2 separate regions of the Homo sapiens genome follow, and region 1 is linked to region 2. Evidence: promoter capture Hi-C in human tissues and cell types (Jung and others, 2019). All regions are on one chromosome and are shown on one strand. The core of a region is centred on a gene start or on the middle of the fragment in contact, and the rest is flanking DNA. Distances in the headings are between cores, read along the strand shown.

Region 1 (7,191 bases), core at 4,692-7,191, 390 kb before region 2:
AGGCTGGAGTGCAATGGCGCAATCTCGGCTCACTGCAACCTCCACTTCCCAGGTTCAAGCAATTCTCCTGCCTCAACCTCCCAAGTAGCTGAGATTACAGGTACACGCCACCACACCTGGCTAATTTTTGTATTTTTAGTAGAGACAGGGTTTCGCCATGTTGGCCCAGCTGGTCTCGAACTCCTGACCTCAAGTGATCCACCCGCCTTGGCCTCCCAAAGTGCTGGGATTACAAGCGTGAGCCACCGCGCCCAGCCACCTCTTTTCCTTCGAAAAACTACTGTAACTGTTGCCAATCAGAGTGTATATTCAGGGCAAATAGAATCTCTGCTCCCAGGTTGCAATCCTCAAGCTTGGCCCAAATAAACCCTCCGCTCATGTTAATGTTGCTTCAGCTTCTTTCTTTTAGGTCAACGTTCAGTACGCGTCTGTCATTTCCATTTGACTGTTAAACAAACTGGAGACTATAGAGGCCAAGGGAAAACTTGCCCTCTGCCCTCAGGAGATTCACGGAAAATCAACTGACAAAGTAAGAGAAAAGGCATACAGATTTATTCATGCACACAGGGAGAACCAGAGTGATGACCCCAACCTCCCAATGGGGTTCGGAAGCTTATATACCATCTTGAGGTTACAGAAAGAACATGGGCTCAAAGTATGGCCACAGTTTATGGTGGAAAATCAGGTGACCAGTGGCAAGACCGGTTACAGGAGGGAGAGCAGAGGAGGCCTGGCTAGCAAAGGTGGCCTTGTTCTACAGATGAAACCTCACAGGTAGCAGCCCTGAGAGAGAACAGATGGTGAATGTTCCCTTCAGGCCTTTAAAGGCGTCAGACTGTTACTCTTCCCAGATCAGGCAAGGAGGGCCTCAGAGGAGGCCTGGCCGCATCAGTGTAGATTCTCTCCACAGATGCAAATCTCCCCCACAAAAGACAGCTTTTCAGCTATTCTTCTATTTCCAGTCCTTCTGAGTAACTGTCTTGAACCGTGTCAAGGAAATATTTTTGTTGTTGTTGTTTGTTTGTTTTGAGGCAGAGTCTCACTCCGTCACCCAGGCTGGAGTGCAGTGGTGCAATCTCAGCTCACTGCAACCTCCACCTACTGGGTTCAAGTGATTCTCCTGCTTCAGCCTCCCTGGGATTACAGGCATGCACCACCATGCCTGGCTAATTTTTGTATTTTTAGTAGAGACGGGGTCTCGCCATGTTGGCCAGCCTGGTCTCAAACTCCTGACCTCAGGTGATCTGCCCACCTCGGCCTCACGAAGTGCTGGGATTACAGGCGTGAGTCACCATGCCCAGCCATGGAAATACATTTTGGGGCGAAATATTTTGGTTTCCTTCAGTCCCCACTTTGAGACTTTCAGAAAGTTGCCCATATAAAAAGAAAGTTGATAGCTTTGAAGAGATTTGAGTTAGAGGTTGTTAGATAAGAGACAGGCAGAGGCGGGCAAAAAGAAATTGGGATAAGCAGAAAAAGACAAATTTAAATGTCATCCTGGCAGGGCACAGTGGCTCATGGCTGTAAATCTCAGCACTTTGGGAAGCTGAGGCAGGAGGAGCACTTGAGCCCAGGTGTTCAGACCAGCCCGGGCATCACAGGGAGACTCTATTGCTACAAAAAATAAAAAATTAGCCAGGCATGGTAGTTTGTGTCTGTGGTCCCAGCTACCTGGGAGGCTGATGCAGCAGGATGACCTGAGCCTGGGAAGTCAAGTCTGCAGAGAGCTGTGATCACACCACTTTGTGGGTGAGTGAGTGAGACCCTGTCTCTGAAAAATAGATATGTATCATGCCATATTTTCTTGAATCCGTCTCTTAGTCCTGAGACTAGATCAGCTCAGTTAAACAGCTGTATCCTATTCCAAGAAGTGGCATTGCAGATGGGCTGGGACCTCGTATATAATTCACACAAACAGATCTTTAACAAGATACAATTCTATGGAAACAGAAGAAAAAAAACGGTGAATGTCTGGTGTCATCCATAGACTAGCTTTTCTAGCTCTCCTCAATCTGAGGCATCTGGAGCATCTTCAGATTGCAATGGCAATTTGACAGATTTTTCTGGATTGTAGTTCTAATTGGGTGTTCAAGTGAACTTTCTGAATAGTCCATATATCAACAGGCACAAAGGCTATTTATACATAAGTCGCTGTGATGATTTCTCCTGAAGATTATAAGTAATTTAGCTTCAGTTGCAGGGCTTCAAGAAAAGCCATTTTAATTTCCAGTGATTTTAAATCAGAAAAATGGGAGAAAAACTGGAAAGCATTAGTTTAGAGACTTGGAGCTAGGAAAGAATGCAGGATTCAGTTCAAACTATAGGCAAATGATAACAACTCAAAAACAAGTCAGTCCGGACTCTCGTAACAGGTGTCAACAGTCAGTCCGGACTCTAATAACAGGTGTCAACAGTCAGTCCGGACTCTAATAACAGGTGTCAACAGTCAGTCCGGACTCTAATAACAGGTGTCAACAGTCAGTCCGGACTCTCCTCACGGCAGGTGTCAACAGTCAGTCCGGACTCTAATGACAGGTGTCAACAGTCAGTCCGGACTCTTGTGACAGGTGTCAACAGTCAGTCCGGACTCTCGTGACAGGTGTCAACAGTCAGTCCGGACTCTAATAACAGGTGTCAACAGTCAGTCTGGACTCTAATAACAGGTATACTATAGTTTTCTTCTAAAACATATTTTTTCTCTCTCCAGTCTCCCTTTTCCACAAAAGACAAATCAGAGTAAGAACAACTGATTTACAAAATAAGTTTTAGTCTTATTATAATTGGCCTGATTATTTGCATAAAGTACAGTAATAATAGTGACTGGCCATTCAACCTCTTTTAAAGTTGGCTTTGCCAGAACTTTTTCATAAGGAATCTCAGATTAGACTTTTAAAAGCATCTTGAGGCCGGGCATGGTGGCTCACGCCTGTAATCCCAGCACTTTGGGAGGCCGAGGCGGGCGGATCGTGGGCTCAGGAGATCAAGACTATCCTGGCTAACACAGTGAAACCCCATCTCTACTAAAAATACAAAGAAAATCAGCCACGTGTGGTGGCGGGCGCCTGTAGTACCAGCTACTCAGGAGGCTAAGGCAGGAGAATGGCATGAACCCGGGAGACGGAGCTTGCAGTGAGCCAAGACCGCGCCACTACACTCCAGCCTGGGCGACAGAGCGAGATCGGTCTCAAAAAAAAAAAACCAAAAACCAAAAAAAAAAAAAAAAAAAAAAAGTACTTGTCTGGGTACTTTACATGAGTTTCCTTGAGGAAGAAGCAAGTCTTGAACTGTAGCTAATTATAAGCTGCTTTTTAAAAAGAATCAAAGTAAAACAGTAATTGACTGTGGATGACAGATGACTTAGACTAATGATGGTTACAGATGCAATTCACAAGGAGATTTGTTTTTTTGTGTGACATACAACAATTTAACATAATAATTATAATTTTGAGCCAGGCGTGGTGGCTCATACCTGTAATCCCTGCACTTTGGGAGACCAAGGCAGGAGGGCTGCTTGAGCTCAGGAGTTCGAGATGAGCCTGGGTGGCACAGCAAGATCCTGTCTCCAAAATAATAAATAAATAAATAAAGACAGCATGAGGCAAACTCTCTACTCCTCCTTTTTTTTTGTGAGACAGAGTCTCACTCTTGTTGCCCAGGCTGGAGTGCAGTGGCACAATCTCAGCTCACTGCAACCTCCGCCTCCCGGGTTCAAGCGATTCTCCTGCCTCGGCCTCCTGAGTAGCTGGGACTACAGGCAGGCGCCACCACGCCTGGCTAATTTTTGTATTTTTAGTAGAGATGGGGTTTCACCATCTTGGCCAGGCTAGTCTCAAACGCCTGACCTCAGGTGATCCACCCACCTCGGCCTCCCAAAGTGCTGGGATTACAGGTGTGAACCACCGTACCGGGCCTACTCCTCCTTTTCTTGTAGTTTACTCAAAAGGTAAACAAAAATCTTTTACTGTCTCTTATTAATACTACATGAAAATCTTACTCAAAAATGAAAACTAAATTCTACCTTTACATTAGCATATTATTAATACTAAAGCTAATTTTAATAAAAACTTAAAAACAGATCCATTCAATCTCAATCAGCTTTGACCACATAAGATTTCCATAAACCTTTAATAACCTCTTAAAATTTGTTCCATTCTTTGTTTCTCAAACTTTCTATATATATTCAGTTTTATCTATCATTTTTTTATTCCTTTAATTTAAAACAACCTTTAAAAACATCAAAACTAGACAAAATTACTTTTCCTTTAACAAAAACCTCATTCTCATGCCTTCTTTATAACCTTCCTTACCAAAAACACATCCTACTTTCTTATAAACTTTGCATACAGAAGTGTTTCTCTTATATCTAGTAGTTTTAAATACATATATTAATTACAATGTTAACTCTTAGGAAGCCTAATTTTCAGTGAAAAACATGGGAAGTAAGCAATTTTAATTGTTATTAAAGATGCAAAGCCCAGGACAAAGGACAGAGCTTTAAAGACTGATATGGTTTGGCTGTGTCCCCACCCAAATCTCATCTTGAACTGTAGTTCCCAAAATCCACAGGTGTTGTGGGAGGGACCCAGTGGGAGGTGATTAGATGAAGGGGGCGGTTCCCCCACGCTGTTTTTGTGCTAGTGAGTTCTCACGAGGTCTCATGGTTTCATGAGGTGCTTCCCCACTCTTCGCTCTGCACACCTCCTTCCTGACCTCATGTGAAGAACGTGTTTGCTTCCTCTTCCGCCATGATTGTAAGTTTCCTGAGGCTTCCCAGCCACGCTGAACTGTGAGTCAATTAAACCTCTTTCCTTTACAAATCACCCAGTCTCAGGTATGTCTTTATTAGCAGTGTGAGAATGGGCTACTACAAAGACAATGCCTGGAGGACTCAACCCCTCCCAGCATGACCGGGGGGCACAGCTGGGCCAGGGAGGACAATGCTCGGGCACTGCAGACACACAGCATGACCGGGGGGCACAGCTGGGCAAGAGAGGACAATGCTCGGGCACTGCAGACACACAGCATGGCTGGGGCGCACAGCTGGGCTAGGGAGGACGGGGCTCAGGCACTGCAGACACACAGTATGGCCGGGGGGCACAGCTGGGCTAGGGAGGACGGGGCTCGGGCACTGCAGACAAACAGCATGACCGGGGGGTACAGCTGGGCCAGGGAGGATGGGGCTTAGGTACTGCGGACACACAGATGTCTCCAGGCCACATCATGTCCACTTGTCTTGACCCCAGAATGTAGAGGCTCAAAGCCAAAGACCTAAGTTCACAGACAAATTAAGCAAGTATCAGAAATATGACAGAAGCAAATTTTATGACCTTAAAGCATCTAACAGAGACTGTCTGAACCTGTCCGACCAATGGGCCCAAGCAAAGATGTCTCAATTATATTTAAGACTGACGACTTTGAAGATATTCTAATTTTAGCATCATTTTTTTTTTTGAGATGGAGTCTCACTCTGTCACCCAGGCTAGAGTGCAGTAGTGCAGTCTCGGCTCACTGCAACCTCTACCTCCCAGGTTCAAGTGATTCTCCTGCCTCAGCCTCCTGAGTAGCTAGGACTACAGGCGCATGCCACCACGCCTGGCTAATTTTTGTATTTTTAGTAGAGACGGGGTTTCACCATGTTGGCCAGGATGGTCTCGATCTCTTGACCTCGTGATTTGCCCGCCTCAGCCTCCCAAAGTGCTGGGATTACAGGTGTGAGCCACTGCACCCAGCAGCAACAATTTTAAAACTAAGTTTATTTGCCAAAGATTACTAGTCACATGAACTAGAAAAGCATCTGGGTTTAGTTACATCATTCATGAGCACTTATTTATTTATACGTCAATTTGCTACTATGTACATAATATACAAACAGGCATGTACACATAAAAATACAGACACAAATCAAGATTTTATAGCTTTAGTTTTAAGATTTTAGCCACGAATCGGGTAAAAATCACTAGTTTAAAAGGATACTTAAAATTGTGCCTCTGTAAATGGAACAAGGTAAAATTTATCTGTCTCACACGGCCAAAGCCCTTACCAAGTTTTAGAGAAAACAAGGCAACAAATTTACATCTTGAAGCACAGAGAAAAAAAAATTATTTTTATTTACTGAATTTTTTCAAGACGGAGTCTTGCTCTGTCGCCCAGGTTGGAGTGCAACGGCACGATCTTGACTCACTGCAACCTCTGCCTCCTTGGTTCAAGCAATTCCACAGGGAGAAAGTTTAAGCTTTGATTTAGTATGTTAAAGGAAGATTTTAAATGGATGCTGAGGTAACAAAAAGTCATAGAAATTCACCACAGGATTTTATAAGGACAACAATGTTATTTAAATATGTGGCTATTAATTTATTCTCCATTTTTGAACTAGACCACTGGGCTCAGGACAGAGCTCATTAATGAACATGGCCAAAAAAGCATTTGCAGTTTGGAGGACCTAATATTTAAATATGTGAAAAACAGGTGCAGCTGGAAGGCAGAGCATCTAGATCTTTTAAAATCAAGGATCCCACATTTACACTGAATGCTGAGTTCCCTCTAAAAAGAGATATATATGAGACAAAGCCATACAGTGTTTCCACAGTGTACCTCACTATGAAGACATTCCCCTGAGGCTGGTGGGAGACCCACAGCAATCAGCCCACGGAGTCTCAGCCTTTGACGCCAAGTGCTTCCATAGTCTCCAAGTGTTCAGATTGTGCCTTTCTCATCTAAACATGCAGAGAAACAAGCAGCCACTGCAGGAACAACCATTCACTACAACTGCTTTCAGCCACCTCCAAAACTGTGAGGCAGCCCTCGCCAGTGACCTGCCGGCCATCACACACACTCAGGTCATGCACTGTCTCACAGTGCAACGTAATCCCTGGTACCCCCAAAGCCAAAGAGATCCAGTGACACAGTGCCAAAGACAGCCAAGCTTTAGACCCGAGAGGAAGCTACCCACGACTCCTCAGGCCCCATAAGGAAGACAAAAGCGGGGCGCGTGGCACCTTTCTTTGCGTTCCCCAAGGGGTCTCTAAGTCATCAGAAGTCCCTTGTAGATCCCTTCATTAGGTACCAAAGATGGCAAAGGGGATGGAGGAGCACGGAGGGGTAGAAGTAAATGGGACTGCAATCCTTAGAGGAGCCAATTTGGAAAAATGTTAAGGTTCTAAAAGGCCAATACAATTTTACATTTTTCTCATC
Region 2 (6,789 bases), core at 116-2,615:
TGTCCTGGAAGGAGGAGTCTGTGGCTGAACATCAGGGGCAAGGAGGCGGCTGCCCTATCCATGTTCCATGTCTCCACGCCACTGCCAGTGGTGAGTGACCATGCCACGCGGCAAGGCAGGTGCTGGGGAGCCCATGGATGTGTACAGCTGCTGTTTGCTGGCATTGTCATGATAGCAGGCCTCTGGTCCTTCCTGTCTCCCTGCTCCTACTCCAGGGGCCCTGAGATTGGGAGGTTGGGAGGCCAGAGCCAGCAGGTGTCCGTAGATGAGGAGCTGGGCTCTGCTGTCCCCACAGATGACCGGTGGTTTCCTGAGCTGCATCTTGGGCTTGGTGCTGCCCCTGGCCTATGGCTTCCAGCCTGACCTGGTGCTGGTGGCGCTGGGGCCTGGCCATGGCCTGCAGGGCCCCCACGCTGCACTCCTGGCTGCAATGCTTCGGGGGCTGGCAGGGGGCCGAGTCCTGGCCCTCCTGGAGGAGGTAAGCTGGGCAGGGTGGAGGTGCTGCGGGGTGGGACGAGGGAAAGGACCAGTGACTGCTTCCGTCTTCGCCCCTGGTCCAGAACTCCACACCCCAGCTAGCAGGGATCCTGGCCCGGGTGCTGAATGGAGAGGCACCTCCTAGCCTAGGCCCTTCCTCTGTGGCCTCCCCAGAGGACGTCCAGGCCCTGATGTACCTGAGAGGGCAGCTGGAGCCTCAGTGGAAGATGTTGCAGGTGAGGCTGACTGCGGAGGCATGGCCCTGCCCTGGGGCCTGGCTCTGCCGCACAGATCGGTGGGGAGGGCAGGGCAGGGGAGTGCCCTGAACCAGCTCCAGCGCCGGAGGCCAACTGCGCGCCTCTTCTCGGCTCCTCCTGTAGTGCCATCCTCACCTGGTGGCTTGAAATCGGCCAAGGTGGGAGCATTTACACCGCAGAAATGACACCGCACGCCAGCGCCCCGCGGCCGCGATCCGGACCCCAAGCCCACGGCTCCCTCGACTCTGGGGCACGGAACCCCGCCCACTCCCAATCCCCGCGCCCCGCCCTCTCCCACCCGTGCTTCCCCCGCTCCACCCCTCACCTCACCTCGCCCCCGCCCCACCCATCGCGCCCCGGCCCGTCCCATCGAGGCCCATGCAACCCACGCTCGGTCCCGTTCCGGCCCCTGCGCCCCGCTGCGCTTCGCTCCCCGCCCTTGCGCCGTTAGTAAACATCGCTCAAACGAAACGCTGGCTCTGCCTCCTTTACTGAGCACGCTCGGCCTCGGTCTCTCACCCGCGGTGCCGGACTCAGGCCGGAAGTATGCCGCGGCCCAGGCCTCACCAACTTCACGCGCTGCCGGCGTTCCCGTGACGTATTTCCGGCGCGCCCGCCCTAGTGCTCTTCACACTGGCGCGGCTGTGACGCGACGGAGGCGGCGAGAGCGGCAGCCGTGGGCACTTTCCACGGGTGAGGCCTGGAGAACGGGTGGACGTGCAGGCCAGAACCCGGGACCCACCCGGCTGAGCCCCCAGACTCTCCGCTGCCCACGACCCTCGGAGTGGCACCCTCTCCTGGCCGTCTCCTCTCGTGGGTCCCGAAGAACGGGTGCAAAGCCGAGTTCGTCCGCTGTACTGCGCGGGCGCGCGTTTCGTTCTTCGGTTTTGCCACGGTTCTGTGACTCCCTAAAGGTTGAGGGCTACTGAATTAGAAGAAACGCCGAGCTGGCTTCTGGTGGGCTGCCGGGCGCCGGGCAGCGTGCTTGGACTGGGGAGGGCAGGGCGTGTTTACTCTGAGTAGAGCAACCGCAAGACCTCCTTTAAAAAATACCAGTTCTGAGCTTCGGCATTGGAGAGGCCGCCTGTCATTCAGCCTCTTCGGACCCTCTCTCACTCCCTGTCTTCCGGAGCGTGAGTGAAGCCCGGGTGAGGTGTTTTCCCACACGCCGGGGGCCCGGAGCTGAGAAGGGGCATGGCCAGCATCACGCAGCTGTTCGACGACCTGTGTGAGGCCCTCCTGCCGGCTGCCAAGACTCACCTGGGCCAGCGCAGTGTGAACCGGAAGAGGGCAAAGCGGAGCCTCAAGAAGGTGGCCTACAATGCTCTTTTCACAAATCTTTTTCAAGATGAGACTCAACAGCTGCAGCCTGACATGTCAAAACTACCAGCGAGAAACAAGATCCTCATGTTGTCCTTTGACTTGAGAGTGGGTGGCCTGGGCCCCAAGGCCGACCGTTTGGAGGAGCTTGTGGAGGAGCTGGAAGCAGCCCCTTGCTGTCCGCTTTTGGAGGTGGGGTCTGTTTTGGACCTCCTGGTTCAGCTGGCAGGGAGTGGTCCCCCTCAAGTTCTGCCGAGAAAACGAGACTACTTCCTTAACAACAAGCATGTGGGGAGAAACGTTCCGTACAGCGGCTATGATTGCGACGACCTGAGTGTGTTTGAGATGGACGTTCAGTCTCTGATCTCCAGAGAAGAGTGTTTGTGTCACAGCATGATCCAGGAAACACTTCAGGTTATGGAGGCTGCTCCAGGCACTGGCCTGCCCACCGTCGGGCTCTTCTCATTTGGTGACCCTTGTGGTGACAGGTTCGAGAGAGACACCCGGGTCTCGCTCTTCGGGGCCCTTGTGCACAGCCGCACTTATGACATGGACGTCCGACTGGGCCTGCCCCCCGTGCCAGACAATGCGGACCTCTCTGGGCTGGCTATTAAGGTAGAATGTTTAGTTTTTCCTCTTTCATCTCTCTCGGGGTTTGGAAAATGCTTCCTGTGACCTTTCTTCTTCTTCTTCTTCTTCTTTTTTTTTTTTTTTTTGAGACAGTGTCTCACTCTGTCACCCAGGCTGGAGTGCAGTGGCGCGATCTTGGCTCACCTTAACCTCCACTTTCTGGGCTCAAGCAATTCTCGTACCTCAGCCTCCCGAGTAGCTGAAATTACAGGCACCTGCCACCACGCCCGGCTTAATTTTTTTTTTTTTTTGAGATGGAGTCTTGCTCTGTTGCCCAGGCTGGAGTGCCGTGGCGCGATCTCGGCTCACTGTAACCGCCGCCTCCCGGGGTCAAGTGATTCTCCTACCTCAGCCTCCCGAGTAGCTGTAGCTGGGATTTAGGTGCATGCCACCACGCCCAGCTAAGTTTTGTATTTTTAGTAGAGATGGGGTTTCACCATGCTGGCTAGGCTGGTCTTGAACTCCTGACCTCTTGATCCGCCTGCCTCGGCCTCCCAAAGTGCTGGGATTACAGGCGTGAGCCACCATGCCCAACTAATTTTTGTATTTTTAGTAGAGGCGGGGTTTCACCATGTTGGCCAGGCTGGTCTCCAACTCCTGACCTCAAATGATCCACCCGTCTCGGCCTCCCAAAGTGCTGGGATTACAGGCATGAGCCACTGTGCCCGGCCCGGTGACCTTCCTTTTATCATGGTAAAAGGGGGGATAGTCTGGTGGCTGCATTGTCCTGAGGTGGGGCTGCTGGAGTGGGCTTACTGGCGGCCACCCTCCTCTGCAGCGACAGTGCTGCCCACCTGCCGGCCAAAGCAACATGCTGCTTTTCATCTTTACCTAATGGGGTATATCGTTAAGCCACCTCTGCCTTCTAGAGCTGCCGTTTAAATTGAAGTTAATTAAAACAAAATAAAATACTCAGTTCCTCAGCCCCACAAGCCACATTTCAAGTGCTCAGTAGCCACGTGTGGCAAAAGTGTTCATGTTCTGTAATTCGTGCAATTGGATATGTTTTTGCTGTCTGTCGCCTGAGGCTTTACCATGGTACGCTGTAGCTCCTCATTTGAGTTTTGTATTTTATTGCTTTATCAGTGTTGCCAAAAGGATACATTGTTACTAGTCGTTCTATTCTTATGCGATAGCTAGATGATTTAGAAACATACATAATGCTACAGCAAATGTCTTGGTGTACAGCAGTTTTGTTTTTTGTTTTTGAGACAAGTCTTGCTCTGTCGCCCAGGCTGGAGTGCAGTGGTGTGGTCTCGGCTCACTGCAACCTCCATCTCCTGGGTTCAAGCGATTCTCCTGCCTCAGCCTCCTAAGTATCTGGGACTACAGGTGTGCGTCACCACACACAGCTAATTTTTGTATTTTATATGTTTGTATTTTTATTTTTTTATTTTATTTGATTTTTTTTTTTGACACAGTCTCGCTCTGTCGCCCAGGCTCGAGTGCGGTGGCACAATCTTGGCTCACTGCAAGCTCTGCCTCCCAGGTTCACGCCATTCTCCCGCCTCAGCCTCCTGAGTAGCTGGGACTACAGGTGCCTGCCACCACGCCCTGCGAATTTTTTGTATATTTAGTAGAGACGGGGTTTCACCGTGTTAGCCAGGATGGTCTCTATCTCCTCACCTCGTGATCTGCCCGCCTCGGCCTCCCAAAGTGCTGGGATTACAGGCGTGAGCCCGGCCTGATTGTTCTTTTTTTTTTTTTTTTTTTTTTTTTTGAGATGGAGTCTTGTGTAGGGACCAGCCCTACAGGGTCTGTGGGTTTTTCTCTCCATATGCGGAGACCAGAGATGGTAGAAATAAAGACACAAGACAGAGATAGAAGAAAAAACAGCTGGGCCCGGGGGATCACTACCACCAACACGTGGAGACCAGTAGTGGCCCCAAATGCCAGGCTGCGCTGTTATTTATTGGATACAAGGCAAAAGGGGCAGGGTAAGGAGTGTGAGTCATCTCCAATGATAGGTAAGGTCACGTGGGTCACGTGTCAACTGGACAGGGGGCCCTTCCCTGTTTGGCAGCCGAAGCAGAGAGAGAGGAGACAGCTTACACCATTATTTCTGCATTTCAGAGACTTTTAGTACTTTCACTAATTTGCTACTGCTATCTAGAAGGCAGAGCCAGGTGTACAGGATGGAACATGAAAGTGGACTAGGAGTGTGACTGCTGAAGCACAGCATCACAGGGAGACGTTTAGGCCTCTGGATAACTGCGGGTGGGCCTGAGTCATGTCAGGCCCTCCACAAGAGGTGGTGGAGCAGAGTCTTCTCTAACTCCCCCAGGGAAAGGGAGACTCCCTTTCCTGGTCTGCTAAGTAGTGGGTGCTTTTCCTAGGCACTGACGCTACCGCTAGACCAAGGTCCGCTAGGTAATGGGCGTCTTCCCAGGTGCTGCCATTACCACTAGACTAAGGAGCCCTCTAGTGGCCCTGTCTGGGCATGACAGAAGGCTCACACTCTTGTCTTCTGGTCACTTCTCACCTTGCCCCTTCAGCTCCTGTCTCTGTATGGCCTGGTTTCTCGTAAGTTACAATTGTAGAGCGAAGATTATTATAATCTTGGAATAAAGAGCAATTGCTACAAACTAATGATTAATAACGTTCATATATAATCATATTTATGATCTATAGTGTAACTATTCTTGTTCTATATATTTTATTGTACTAGAACAGCTCGTGCCCTCGGTCTCTTGCCTCGGCACCTGGGTGGCTTGCTGCCCACAGTCTTGCTCTGTCGCCCAGACTGGAGTGTGGTGGCGCAATCTCGGCTCACTGCAACCTCCGCTTCCCGGGTTCAAGCAATTCTTCTGCCTCAGCCTCCCGAGTAGCTGGGACCACAGGTGCCCACCACCACGCCTGGCCGATTTTTATATTTTTAGTAGAGACGGGGTTTCACATGCTGGCCAGGCTGGTCTCAAACTCCTGACCTCAGGTGATCCACCTGCCTCAGCCTCCCATAGTGCTGGGATTACAGGCGTGAGCCACTGCGCCTGGCCCCGGTGTACAGTAGTGTTTTAATGTTGAGTGTGATTTTTTTAATTCTGGGTTCCCCACATTGGAATTTCCAGGTCTGAGGCATCTCAAAAAGTTTCACTCTAAGTTCCACTGAGGCTTATGTGTTACATGGAATTGGAAATTGGCAGCCTTGACGACTTATTTTGTTTAATTCCTTAAATGGCTCATTGGTGGGAAACATTGTATGGTACACATGCGCTTGAGAAAAACAGAAGAAACATTTTGTTAGGTCTTTGCATAAAGTTCCTGAAATTCTCATCGCCCTTGGATGAAACGTGGACACAGCAATAAGTGGCGGTTTGCCCTTCCCTGTGTCTCCAGGTCCCACCGAGTGTGGATCAGTGGGAAGACGAAGGATTCCAGTCAGCGTCCAACTTGACTCCTGATTCCCAGTCTGAGCCCAGCGTGACCCCAGACGTGGACCTGTGGGAAGCCGCACTTACCTATGAGGCCAGCAAGCGGAGGTGCTGGGAGCGAGTTGGCTGGTGTGTGCCCTTCTTTGCCTTGGCATGCAGTGCCCCTACCCCTGCATGAGCGTGGCCTTGGATGGGGTGTGTGGGGGGCGTTGTGTACTCAGGGGTCCAGGCAGTTGTGATGGGTTAGTAACCTAAGCTAGTGTCCAAAATTGACTGAGTCCTGGGAGTTAAGAGAGATGCAGAGGGGAAAGCACTAACAGCCTTTAAGGAGGCCTCACCTCCCCATCCAGTAACCAGATCACACCTGTCGGGCAGAACTCCCCTCCCTGTGCCAGTAACCAGATCACACCTGTCGGGCAGAGCTCCCCTCCCCGTGCCAGTAACCAGATCACACCTGCCAGGCAGAGCAGTTGGGGCAGCTAAGTTATGTCCTTAAGAGCAAGAGAGCTGCCTGGCAGGCTGTGTGATTAGTGCCAGGAAGAAATGCTCACTGGGCATGGGGTGCTGATGAAGGAGCCTTTTCCATTCATGTCTAGAGGAATTGGGGTGCTGATGAACACGGAACCTTTTCCGTCCGTGTCTGGAGGAGTTGGGAGGGGCAGTCTGGGTGATGAGAAGCTCCAGCTGCAGCAGCTTTTTCCTGACTGGTACCAGCAGCTTGCTCTCTGGATGCG

The links. The method cuts DNA at HindIII sites, captures the fragments that hold promoters and counts their contacts. A contact is called where the count stands out against the background at its distance.
Region 1: a contact is called between a fragment that was not itself captured here and the fragment with the promoter of TUBGCP6 in region 2, in 1 of the 25 tissues and cell types used here (spleen).

What each region holds. Positions count from the first base shown.
Region 1 is chr22:50,633,620-50,640,810 of GRCh38, reverse strand. It overlaps LOC124905149 (a long non-coding RNA gene), which reads right to left. Exons shown (of 2, transcript XR_007068161.1): 1 at 6,113-7,191; 2 at 4,805-5,268. Among named protein-coding and RNA genes, the nearest start is that of ARSA, 9.1 kb to the right of the region's middle. RefSeq lists enhancers at 4,518-5,032, 5,033-5,549. The HindIII fragment of the contact is 5,037 bases long and covers 3,423-7,191 here.
Region 2 is chr22:50,239,599-50,246,387 of GRCh38, reverse strand. It overlaps TUBGCP6 (tubulin gamma complex component 6), which reads left to right and starts at 1,365. Exons shown (of 25, transcript NM_020461.4): 1 at 1,365-2,669; 2 at 6,021-6,184. The coding sequence starts at 1,929. HDAC10 (histone deacetylase 10) reads left to right here. Exons shown (of 20, transcript NM_032019.6): 17 at 12-90; 18 at 296-478; 19 at 561-713; 20 at 858-1,205. The coding sequence ends at 881. RefSeq lists a silencer at 993-1,062 and enhancers at 1,533-1,582, 1,993-2,272, 1,846-2,776, 4,684-4,983. The HindIII fragment of the contact is 41,268 bases long and covers 1-6,789 here.